2 separate regions of the Homo sapiens genome follow, and region 1 is linked to region 2. The links are contacts of gene promoters, found by promoter capture Hi-C in human tissues and cell types (Jung and others, 2019). All regions are on one chromosome and are shown on one strand. The core of a region is centred on a gene start or on the middle of the fragment in contact, and the rest is flanking DNA. Distances in the headings are between cores, read along the strand shown. Region 1 overlaps GNB1 (G protein subunit beta 1). Region 2 holds the start of SSU72 (SSU72 homolog, RNA polymerase II CTD phosphatase).

The links. Contacts are between HindIII fragments. The study calls those that stand out against the background at their distance.
Region 1: a fragment that was not itself captured here is called in contact with the fragment with the promoter of SSU72 in region 2 in 3 of the 25 tissues and cell types used here (dorsolateral prefrontal cortex, spleen and thymus).

The regions. Positions count from the first base shown.
Region 1 is chr1:1,820,227-1,825,579 of GRCh38, forward strand. GNB1 (G protein subunit beta 1) reads right to left here. Exons shown (of 12, transcript NM_002074.5): 3 at 5,171-5,273. The coding sequence starts at 5,227. Among named protein-coding and RNA genes, the nearest start is that of NADK, 44 kb to the left of the region's middle. The HindIII fragment of the contact is 4,641 bases long and covers 896-5,353 here.
Region 2 is chr1:1,572,754-1,577,982 of GRCh38, forward strand. SSU72 (SSU72 homolog, RNA polymerase II CTD phosphatase) reads right to left here and starts at 2,110. Exons shown (of 5, transcript NM_014188.3): 1 at 1,725-2,110. The coding sequence starts at 1,804. SSU72-AS1 (SSU72 antisense RNA 1) reads left to right here and starts at 2,194. Exons shown (of 1, transcript NR_197593.1): 1 at 2,194-4,318. RefSeq lists silencers at 1,594-1,673, 1,914-2,073, 3,733-3,902 and enhancers at 2,194-2,303, 2,314-2,383, 4,301-4,843. The HindIII fragment of the contact is 14,967 bases long and covers 1-5,229 here.

The DNA.
Region 1 (5,353 bases), core at 1,966-4,465, 250 kb after region 2:
GGCACCTGTAATCGTAACTATTTGGGGAGGCTGAGGCAGGAGAATCGCTTGAACCTGGGAGGCAGAGGTTGCAGTGAGCTGAGATCACACCACTGCACTCCAGCCCGGGCAACAGAGCGAGACTCTGTTTAAAAAAAAAAAAAAAAAAAAAAAAGGAACTATACTGAGATTATTATAAATATACCAAATTTATACATTCCAAATTCATCTTTAGTTAAGCTCTTTATTGGTCATTCTGCTTATAATTAAGACACACACAAAAAAATCGAGTATTTCTATGCAAGCAGTAACATTTGGAGTAAGGGGGATGAAGAATACTTAGAGCAGCAGAAGTCTTTTTGTCAATGAATTTTACTGGCAAGTACTGAGTTTAATATTTGTTTTTGAAATACTATTCTTGTTGATGTTACAGCCTTTGATTTTAAAACATCATAAGAAAATTTAAAATGGAGAAAATAAAACATGAGATTTAAGCAACTTCCCCCGGTTAGTGTCCAATGACTAAAATGAGTTTCTTAAGGTACAGTGTAACAGACTGTGGTGATACTACTGTTAAACCGAAGGAAAAACTACTGTAAAAACAACACACAGATAACTTCAATTCAATCTTTATTTTAGCCAATAACCAGCTTATTTAACTGAGTGCAGCACTTTGCAGAACAGACACCTTCAACTTTTAAAACTGTAGGAAGAAGTCTTTTAATGGAAACAAGCTCTATAACTGCTTAACAAAGAAGAAAAAGTCTTCAAGTTCTTTCAGATTAATTTCCAGTTTAATGGACTCCTGTAGATACATATTATGATGTCCACTTAAACCAGAGATGAACATATCCAAGCCACTCATCAGTTGATTTCTCATTCTTTTTGGATTTGTCAAATGACACAGTAACACACTTACTTTGGGGTTTCATCCTAAATTAAAGCCTGGGCCCTGCTCAGCATGGAGTCGCTGGACATTTTGGACCGGGCATCCATTGCAGCTGCCTCTCGCACGAATGGACCCTGCTCCCTTGCACTGGCTGGCATGCCGCTCCAGAACACATCTACGCCTGTGCATCCTGTGGAGCTTTCCTTACTCCATCAGCTACTCTGTGTATTTTAAGGCACACCATGTTTTAATCAGAATCCCTCTGAGAGCCTGTGTTTCCTCAATAATAATCAAAAGGAGCATGCAAGGTCCTTTAAGGGTCTTTTGGCTGAAAAACAAATCTAAGAAAGAAAACAGCCCCTTTTAGAATCATCTACAATTTCTTGTTTGATTCACTATGCTCTGCATTCTTTAACAAGCACGTATTCCTTGGGCAATCAGGAAAAAATGTTCTACATTTTAAAAATAAGTCTTCCTTTCCCATTTGGGGTAAAAGGACTTCAACAGCTTTTGCTGTCCCTGTCTCGTGCAAAGGAACTAACACAGCGCGGTTCCTGGTACTTCGGAGACAAAGCAGCTAGGCGCCTCTCCTAGTGAACGTCCCACCGCGGGGGCCATGACCTGCCTGTGGCTGCTGCGCACAGCAAACGGAACCAGGAGACTTGGGACAAAAACAGTGTCAAATATCTCAATTAAAATGTATTAATTACACATTGCATAATAAATAATATTTTAGATATACTGCCTTAGATAAAATTTGTTGGGCCAGGCATGGTGGTTCACACCTGCCAGCACTTTGGGAGGCTGAGGCGGGAAGATCCCTTGAGCCCTAGGAGTTCAAGACCAGCTGGGGCAACATGGTGGACTCTGTCTCTACAAAATTGAAAAAAACCAGCCAGGTGTGGCAGCATGCTCCTGTAGTTCCAGCTACTCGGGAGGCTGCAGTGAGCTGTGATCGCACCACTGCTCTCCAGCTTGAATGACTGACAGAGACCCTGTCTCAAAACACACAAACAAAAAAATGAAAAAAACCTTGTTAGGGTTAATTCCACCCGTTTCTTTTCATTCTTTTTCAAAAGACAGGGCCTTTCTACCTTACAAAGGCTGGTCTCAAGCTTTTGGGCTCATGCAATCCTCCTGCCTTGGTATCCCAAAGTACTGGGATTAACGGCATGAGCCACGGTGCCTGGCCGTCTCTCTTTTTACTTTTTTTTTTTTTTTTTTTGAGACGGAGTCTCGCTCTGTCTCCCAGGCTGGAGTGTGCAGTGGCGCGCTCTCGCCTCACTGCAAGCTCCGCCTCCCAGGTTCACGCCATTCCCTGCCTCAGCCTCCCAAGTAGTTGGGACTACAGGCGCCCACCACCACCACACCTGGCTAATTTTTTTTGTATTTTTTTTCTTTTAGTAGAGACGGGGTTTCACCGTGTTAGCCAGGATGGTATCGATCTCCTGACCTTGTGATCCACATGCCTCAGCCTCCCAAAGTGCTGGGATTACAGGCGTCAGCCACCGCGCCCGACCTCTTTTTACATTTTTTATGTGGCAACAAGAGCATGTGGGGAATGTCACGTGACATTTGTGCCAGCCCAAGAGGGAGCCCCCTGTGCAAGAAGGCCCTGGGGAATTCACAACGTGACAGGGTCCAAACCTCGGAAGGAGGTGCAACAGTTCCTTTTGGCCTTAATTTTTTAAATTTGGGTGTCTTTCACCTGTGCCATACAAGCTCTTTCCATCTGCTATGAATAGATCCAAGTCCACTATTTGTGAACAACTTATAGCTGTCAGAAAAACAAAATTTCTTCAAATATGCCAAATCACCCTACTATTTAAGACATTTTCAGGGTAAACTTTAAAATTCTGATTTCTAGGCCGGGCGTGGTGGCTCATGCCTGTAATCCCCGCACTTTGGGAGGCCGAGGTGGGCGGATCACGAGGTCAGGAGATCGAGACCATCCTGGCTAACACGGTGAAACCCCATCTCTACTAAAAGTACAAAAAATTAGCCGGGTGTGGTGGCGGGCGCCTATAGTCCCAGCTCCTCAGGAGGCCGAGGCAGGAGAATGGTGTGAACCCAGGAGGAGGAGCTTGCAGTGAGCTGAGATCGCGCCACTGCACTCCAGCCTGGGGAACAGGGCGAGACTGTCTCCAGAAAAAAAAAAAAAAAAAAAAAAAAATCTGATTTCTATAAGATGAAATATAGTCTCAAAAGCAGGTGGTAAAGAGCTGAGAGTGTTCTGAACCCCCCCAAAAACCCAGTTAGATTATTATTAAATAACAACACTTTGCTTTTCTTTTTTACTTGCCAAAAACCATGCTGACTTAAAATGAACAGCAGAAGCTTAAGTATTAAGTCAGGCAAAATTTGAATACCTTTTGGTTTTATTTAAATAGATATTTCAGAGAATAATTTTATATCAAACTAAATATTTCAGAACACATTTGATTAATTTTGGTGGAGGGGACATGTTAAACAAGTCTGATCAGAGCAAACTATTAAAAAAATCTAAGTCTTCCCTATTCACCTATGTAAGATCTTTTAAATGTTAAGATTTAAAATTCTTACAGTAGAGGATACTTTGTTTTCTCTTTGGCTGTAAATCTCAGAGAATTCCATTATTTTTTCTCAAGTTCAGGAACAAGTTGCCTAAAATTATGTTGGTGTTTCTCTCTCCAAATCCTGGTGGGCTTTCTAAACATGTAATTGGCCGTTTAAAAGGAAATACTTGACTTCATCCTTGCACTGGAGTCAGAAAAATAAACTGTTGTTTTTTATTTTATTTTACTGTATTTTGAGAAGGTGTCACTTTGTCACCTAGGCTGCAGTGCAGTGGTGCAATCACAGCTTACTATACAGCCTCAACCTCCTGGGCTCAAGTGATCCTCCTGGGTAGCTCAGACTACAGGCGCGCACCACCATACCCAGCTTATAAACTGTTATTTAGGTATGTACTGAATGTCATCAGCTTCCTGTACAGCGACACTCTGAAGAACAGCTAAAGCTTGACAGAGCAAACAAGAGTAAGAGAAAGCTCTTACATCAAATGGACAAAACCTAAAAACATACTGAAGACGTGGTTTTTCCTGAGAAGTCTGCCTCTTTTTCTCTTACTCTTCACATCAGCAGTTTCAGAAAGGAAACACATACTTGCATTAAATGTTTCTCTATAAAATATTTACTAGAAGTACTGCTTCACAAAAGTAGGAGCAGCAGAATGAATTCCATTTAGACCTACTGCTCCTCCCTTTTCAGAAAGTTATGAGGCAAGAGAATTGCTTGAAAGAGGTTGCAGTGAGACGAGATCGCGCCACTGCACTCCAGCCTGGGCACAACAGAGTGAAACTCTCTCTCAAATAAAAGTTTATGAACTCTGCAATTTAACATCCTACATCAGTCACAGACTGGAATTTAATGTTTTAGAATTCTGTGAAAGGTATTCTTTTTACAGTGCAGTTTATTTACACACGGTAAATAAATTTATCTTCAATTTTTTTTTTATTTTTCAGGGTCTCACTCTGACGCCCAGGTTGGAGTGCAGTGGCACAATCTCGGCTCACTGGATCCTCTGCCTCCCGGGTTCAAGGGATTCTCTGACTTTAGCCTCCTGAGTAGCTGGGAATACAGGCACACACCACCACACCCAGCTAATTTTTATATTTTTTGTAGAGATGGGGGTTTCACTATGTTGCCCTGGCTGGTCTCGAACTCCCGACCTCAGGTGATCCACCCGCCTTGGCCTCCCAAACTGCTGGGATTCCAGGCATGAGCCCCCCACACCCGGCCTCTATCTTGGATTTAGATATATCTGCTCCATCTAGCAGTCTATCAGAAGCTGTAGATTCCAATCATCACCGCTAGGGAAGATCTTTCAAAATTAGGAAAAAATACATCAGATATACCTGAAATACTTTTTTTATTGTTGTTAATACTCTTACTTTTAAGCAAGTTTTCTGCTGTCAATAGTCCCAATATTCAGGGGAGGGAGGTAGATATCACAGTCTGATCAGTGGCCCAGGGTATCACAAATTTTCAAGGTTATGATAAAGAATGCAAAAGACACTTATAAATTCTACGGAGACATCTGGTGTATATTCAAATAACAAATTGTATACAGAAAGCAAAATCCCAAAAACAATGTACTAGGCTAAGTATCTAGATCTATAATTAGTACATCCTGGGCCAACTAAGATTCAATTTCATATAAAACATAGAACAAGTCATCCTGTAAACCATTTTTCCTAAAACAAGTAACATCTAACCTGAAACTCAAATGATTAATAAAACCAAGCACACACAACTACATACTCGAATCTGGTTCTTAAGTTGCTCGGCCTCCTGCCGTAACTGGTCAAGCTCACTCATCTTCCGATCTTAGTGCTCTTCAATGCCACCTTCAAGAATGTGAGATCTGAAACAGAAAGACAAGCACAATCAATAAACAACTGTTGGATAATTTAATGAAGCAGGTGAGAAAAGTAAATTGAAAGT
Region 2 (5,229 bases), core at 860-3,359:
GCCTACTCCATCTTTGTTATGCAGGTACAGCAGAAAATCTTGAACAAAGGATCACCAAGGAGAACCAGCAGAACCAGAAGGTCTCCAGCCCATTTGTTATTCCAATTAACAATAATTTTGTCTTGGGGGGGGGGGGGTGAGCCTTGCATTGTTTTGCTTAAATGTATCAAATTTTTACAGGTAACTGCAGTTTATAAATGAAGATCCAGCACAATGTAATTCTAGCACATTTCTAGTTTTAAAAACAACCTTTGGCCGGATGCGGTGGCTGACGCCTGTAATCCCAGCACTTTGGGAGGCCGAGGCGGGCAGATCACCTGAGGTCAGGAGTTTGAGATTAGCCTGGCCAGCATGGTGAAGCTCCGTCTCTACTAAAAATACAAAAAAAGCCGGGCGCAGTGGCTCACGCCTGTAATCCCAGCACTTTGGGAGGCCGAGCGGGCAGATCACGAGGTCATAAGATCAAGACCATCCTGGCTAAGATGATGAAACTCCGTCTCTACTAAAAATACAAAAAAAAAAAAAAATTAGCCGTGCCTGGTGGCCGGTGCCTGTAGTCCCAGCTACTCGGGAGGCTGAGGCAGGAGAATAGCTCGATCTCGGGAGGCACAAGTTGCAGTGAGCCGAGATCGCGCTACTGCACTCCAGTTTGGGCGACAGAGCAAGACTCTGTCTCAAAAAAAAAAAAAAAAAAAAAAAAAAAGAAAGAAAAGAATAAAGAGAAAGAATCAGCAGATCATGAACACTTGACACTGATTTTTGGGGGGTGTTTTTTGGTCTCCAACTCCTGACTTCAGGTGATCCGCGTGCGTCGGCCTCCCAAAGTGCGGGGACTACACGCGTGAGCCACCGTGCCTGGCCCACGTGACACTGTTAAAAACGGAAAAAAAAGGGGGACTGTTAATTTTCCCAAGTTGCTCAGGAAAGTTATAGCTGGACTGCGAGAAGAGAAGCGAAACACTGTTTTCATTTAAAGTTCACGTAGGTAACTTTGGAGGTAAAAAAGCCATTTCAACTTTCTTACTATCAAAGTTGACACATACCAAATTTTAACTGTAAGTCAAGTGGTCAGTTTCTCAGTTTGCTATGTGACTGAACAAAAAACTTGTTATCAAGCAGGAATAAACTTTCATTAGACATACGCTACGCAAGAGTCACAGGCGGCCAGTTAGCAGGGAATATAAACTAGCAGAGCCAAACCAAGTCCACGTTGTATTCCAGAAACTACCGGTTGGAGGCGTTCCAGGGAGGAAGAGAGGATCTTTCGCAAAAAAAAAAAAAGAAGAAGAAGTAGCAAACACACAAATCCATGGCATTAAAAAAAGAGACCGCTTTGTTATTTACAACATCGTGGTATGCCGTGATTGTGTTGCGCGCCGTTTCCAGGGAAGGTGGCCAACGACGCACACGAAATACCATGATCGGCCGCCGCCGCGCAGCCCCTCGCCGCGGACGCTACCCTCGCCCCCCGGGCCCGGCCTCGGAGAGCTCGAAGGACCACCGGACAGCGGGCGCCTCGTCCCGGAACCTGCCTTCCCTGTGATGCCCACCCGCGTGTGGACTACGCGCGCTGCCGTCCAGCTGCCATCCCAACCAGCCGACCCACGAGCGCGGCCCGGCCCGGCTTCCTCTCAGGGGTCCTGGCGCGGGCCAGGGGGAACCGGGGAGGAGGGAGGGCCGGTCGCCGGAGCAGAGCGCGCGGGGACAGGGTGGAGCCCAACTACCTGAGGATGTTGTGCGCCTCCATGCTCCGGTTCTGGTTGCTCGAGCACACCACCGCCACCCGCAGCGGGGACGACGGCATGGCGGCGGCCGCAAATCCCGCGGCTCTCCCGCTTGGGTTCCCACCCTACCGCGGCGCTTCCGCGCGAACAAAATGGCGGCCGCGGTGGCCGGAAGCGGGCGACGCGAAACGACGGCGCCGGCGGTGTAGCGTGCGGCGACTGCGCGGCGGCCTCCCCGCCCACCCTGGGCGCCGGGCCGCGGACGGAGCGCAGGCACTGGCCTTCGGGCGCGCTGCACTCGGCGAGGCCGGGGGCGGCCAACGCCGCGCCGGCCCCCGGCGTCCGCAGCAGAGACCCGCACTCCACAAGGCCCGGCTGAGCGTCACGGCGCCAAGCGGCGGCGTCCTGACATCAGCACCCCGCGCCGGCGCCTAGTGTGACGCGACGACGTGCGGAACAACAGGACGTCATAAGGTGTCGCCGCCGCCTTTGGGAGCGATGCGAAACGCCGCGCTTGCCGGAGATAGCATTGAGGGCCCTTCCGCGGCCCGGCGTTTCGTCTCTTGGGACGATTTTGTGCGTTCCCTCGGTCCCCGTGGGGCCCATAGTCCTCACTTCTGCCACCCCAGAGTCGTCGCGCTTCACTAGACCCGCTCCCTCCACTGTCCCGGAGGCCCACAGACATTCCCGCATTCTGAGGCTCGCTCCCGTCCCGTGCCGCTGTTACCGGCCTCCGGCCCCGGCTCATACAAGCAGGAGCACATCGCTCTTTTATGAAAGCCCTTCAACATTTAACGTTTAAATGCGAGGGCCGACCTGTGACAGACCTGGTTGGGAGTGCACGTCGACTAGGATCTTCCTCGCCTCGGGCTTCCTTGGAGAGGCCGCCGGCTGGTCTGAGATTTGGGTCCAGTTACAGTAAATCCAGTCAACGCGAGTGTGTCATTCCCCAGCTATGCCTGTCTGCCTGGATGCAGCCTCGCGGTGGACAGTGGGCTGATGTTTTGCCGTGGGAGCGCCACGGACGGGAGAGGGAGTGATAATGATTGTCAACCTAATAACAGGCTAACTGAAAATGATATTTATTTGGGAATAGGGCGTTGGCGAATATGCGTGCCATAGTAAACGATTTGCGCATTCAGGAAAGTAATGGTTTTTAAAGAAAAAATGAAGAGGAAGATAATGGTTTGGAAATAATTAACCTTGGCTACAAAGAACAGTAACAAGTGTACTCCCGGCCGGGCGCGGTGGCTCACGCCTGTAATCCCAGCACTTTGGGAGGCCGAGGCGGGCGGATCACGAGGTCGGGAGATCCAGACCGTCCTGCCTAACCCGGTGAAACCCCGTCTCTACTAAAAATACAAAAAATTAGCCGGGCGTGGTGGCGGGCGCCTGTAGTCCCAGCTACTCGGGAGGCTGAGGCAGGAGAATGGCGTGAACCCGGGAGGCGGAGCTTGTAGTGAGCCGAGATCGCGCCACTGCCCTCCAGCCTGGGCGACAGAGCCAGACTCCGTCTAAAAAAAAAAAAAAACAAGTGTACTCCCGTTCCAGGGTTGGACAGGCAGTTGCTGGGCAGCTGTCCTTGCTGAAGTATTTTTTGTGTAAGATTGCCTTAGTGCAAGGTTGTGGTTTTTGCAGAATCTTGTGATAGTTTTTCTTATTATTGATTCATGAGAATTCTCCATGGCCTTTCCCAGCTGTCTTTGTCAAGGTATTTTTTAAACATAAGTGAGTCCACTTTTATTTGACAACTTGGGTATTTTCCCCTTTTGATTGAGATCTTTCTCCAAATGCATCACTAATGAGTCATCCTGTAATTAGGTTTTGATAGTCCCCGTGCTGGGATGAACTTGTCCCAGATAGCTGGTCTGGTCCCACACTGGAGAGAGTGGCTGCTGGGAGTCATTGTCAAAACCCTTTTTTACCATATTTGAGCATCAAAGGAGGTTTGAAGGGTGTGGCTCTCAGGCTAAGTCTAACCTGGAGTCCATTATTAACTTCAACTTTTGTCACTTCTGTAGTCTTTCTATCATCTCAAAGTGCTGTGTCAGCATTATTCTGTTAGAAATTGTACTTGTAGCCGGGCGCGGTGGCTCACGTCCGTAATCCCAGCACTTTGGGAGGCCGAGGCGGGTGGAACACGAGGTCAAGAGATCGAGACCATCCTGGCCGACATGGTGAAACCCTGTCTCCACTACAAATACAAAAGTTAGCCGGATGTAGTGGTGCGCACTTGTAGTCCCAGCTACTCAGGAGGCTGAGGCAGGAGAATCACCTAAACCCAGGAGGCGGAGGTTGCTATGAGCTGAGATTGTGCCTATGCAGTTCACCCTGGCAACAGAGTGAGATTCCATCTCAAAAAAATAAAAAAAAAGAAATTGTCCTTTTGCAAAATATGGCAATGAATAAGTTTAAAAGGGGAAAATACAAGGTAAAATCAATAATAATATGACTATCCCAGTTTGCATATTGGTTTTGACCCATGAACCTAGGCTTAAAGGAAAGCAATTAAAAAGAAAAAAATTAGAAAACAAAAATAGAAAAATAGAGATTAAAGGAAGCCAATTGAATAAATAAAATGGCCATAGAAATTACACGAGACTTGTAACCATGTGCCTGTTTTCTTTCTGTGTGTAAATGGATCTCAGTGTTCCAGAGGAATTTACCCACATACAGCATATAGTATTGACATACTTATTTAATACCTTATTTAACCAATAGGTACTAAAGATCTCTTAGGTCAGGTTTTTGTGAAGTTACCAGCAGAAGCTATTGATTGTGAAATGTCAGTTATACCATTGATGGCAGTGGCAGCCTCTCTTGAGTGGCTGCTGGGAAGATGCTGGCTACAGCAGGGGAGGCTCAGCTGGGACTCTGTGCTCCACTGAGCATGTGGGAGCCCTGCCCCCTTCCAAGTTGGCAGGACAGGAGCCCCACCCTCCTGGGAGCAGCTGCATCTGCCCAGCCACGGCTGTGGACCCAGGTATCCCTGCAATCCCAGGGCTGGGAAGCCACCCCACCTGCCCCCGAAAGCTCAGAAGTGCCTCCAGCTGCTACCTGGCCTCTCCTGACTCCCGACAAAGCTGAAGCCAAGCCCAGGCGCTGTTGCAACCCAGCCAGGTGTGCACACACTGAGGGCAGTGCTAGCATGCCAGCCCCTTGCTGCCTCGGCCCGCTCTGGACTTTGAGTGCTCACAAGCATGGGAGCAAGGCCAAGGAGGGGCTGAGGGCGGCTCAGCCCAGTCCTGTAGGCGACCCTTGACCTGAACAGCCTGGGTCCTGTAGATGACATGATTGATGGCAGTAGGAGGCACACAGGCTCCTGGGTGGAAAGGGGTGGGTGTCCAGTGAAGACCCCCATTAAAGCTAGGGACTTCCTGAAACATGGGGGCTGGGCTGCCAGTTCTGGGTGGAGTCTGCCGTCCAGAATGAGATTTATGGTGCTTTTTCTGGGCCCGTCCATGGCTGCCCATGGGCCAATCAGTATACACTTTCTCCCTTCTGA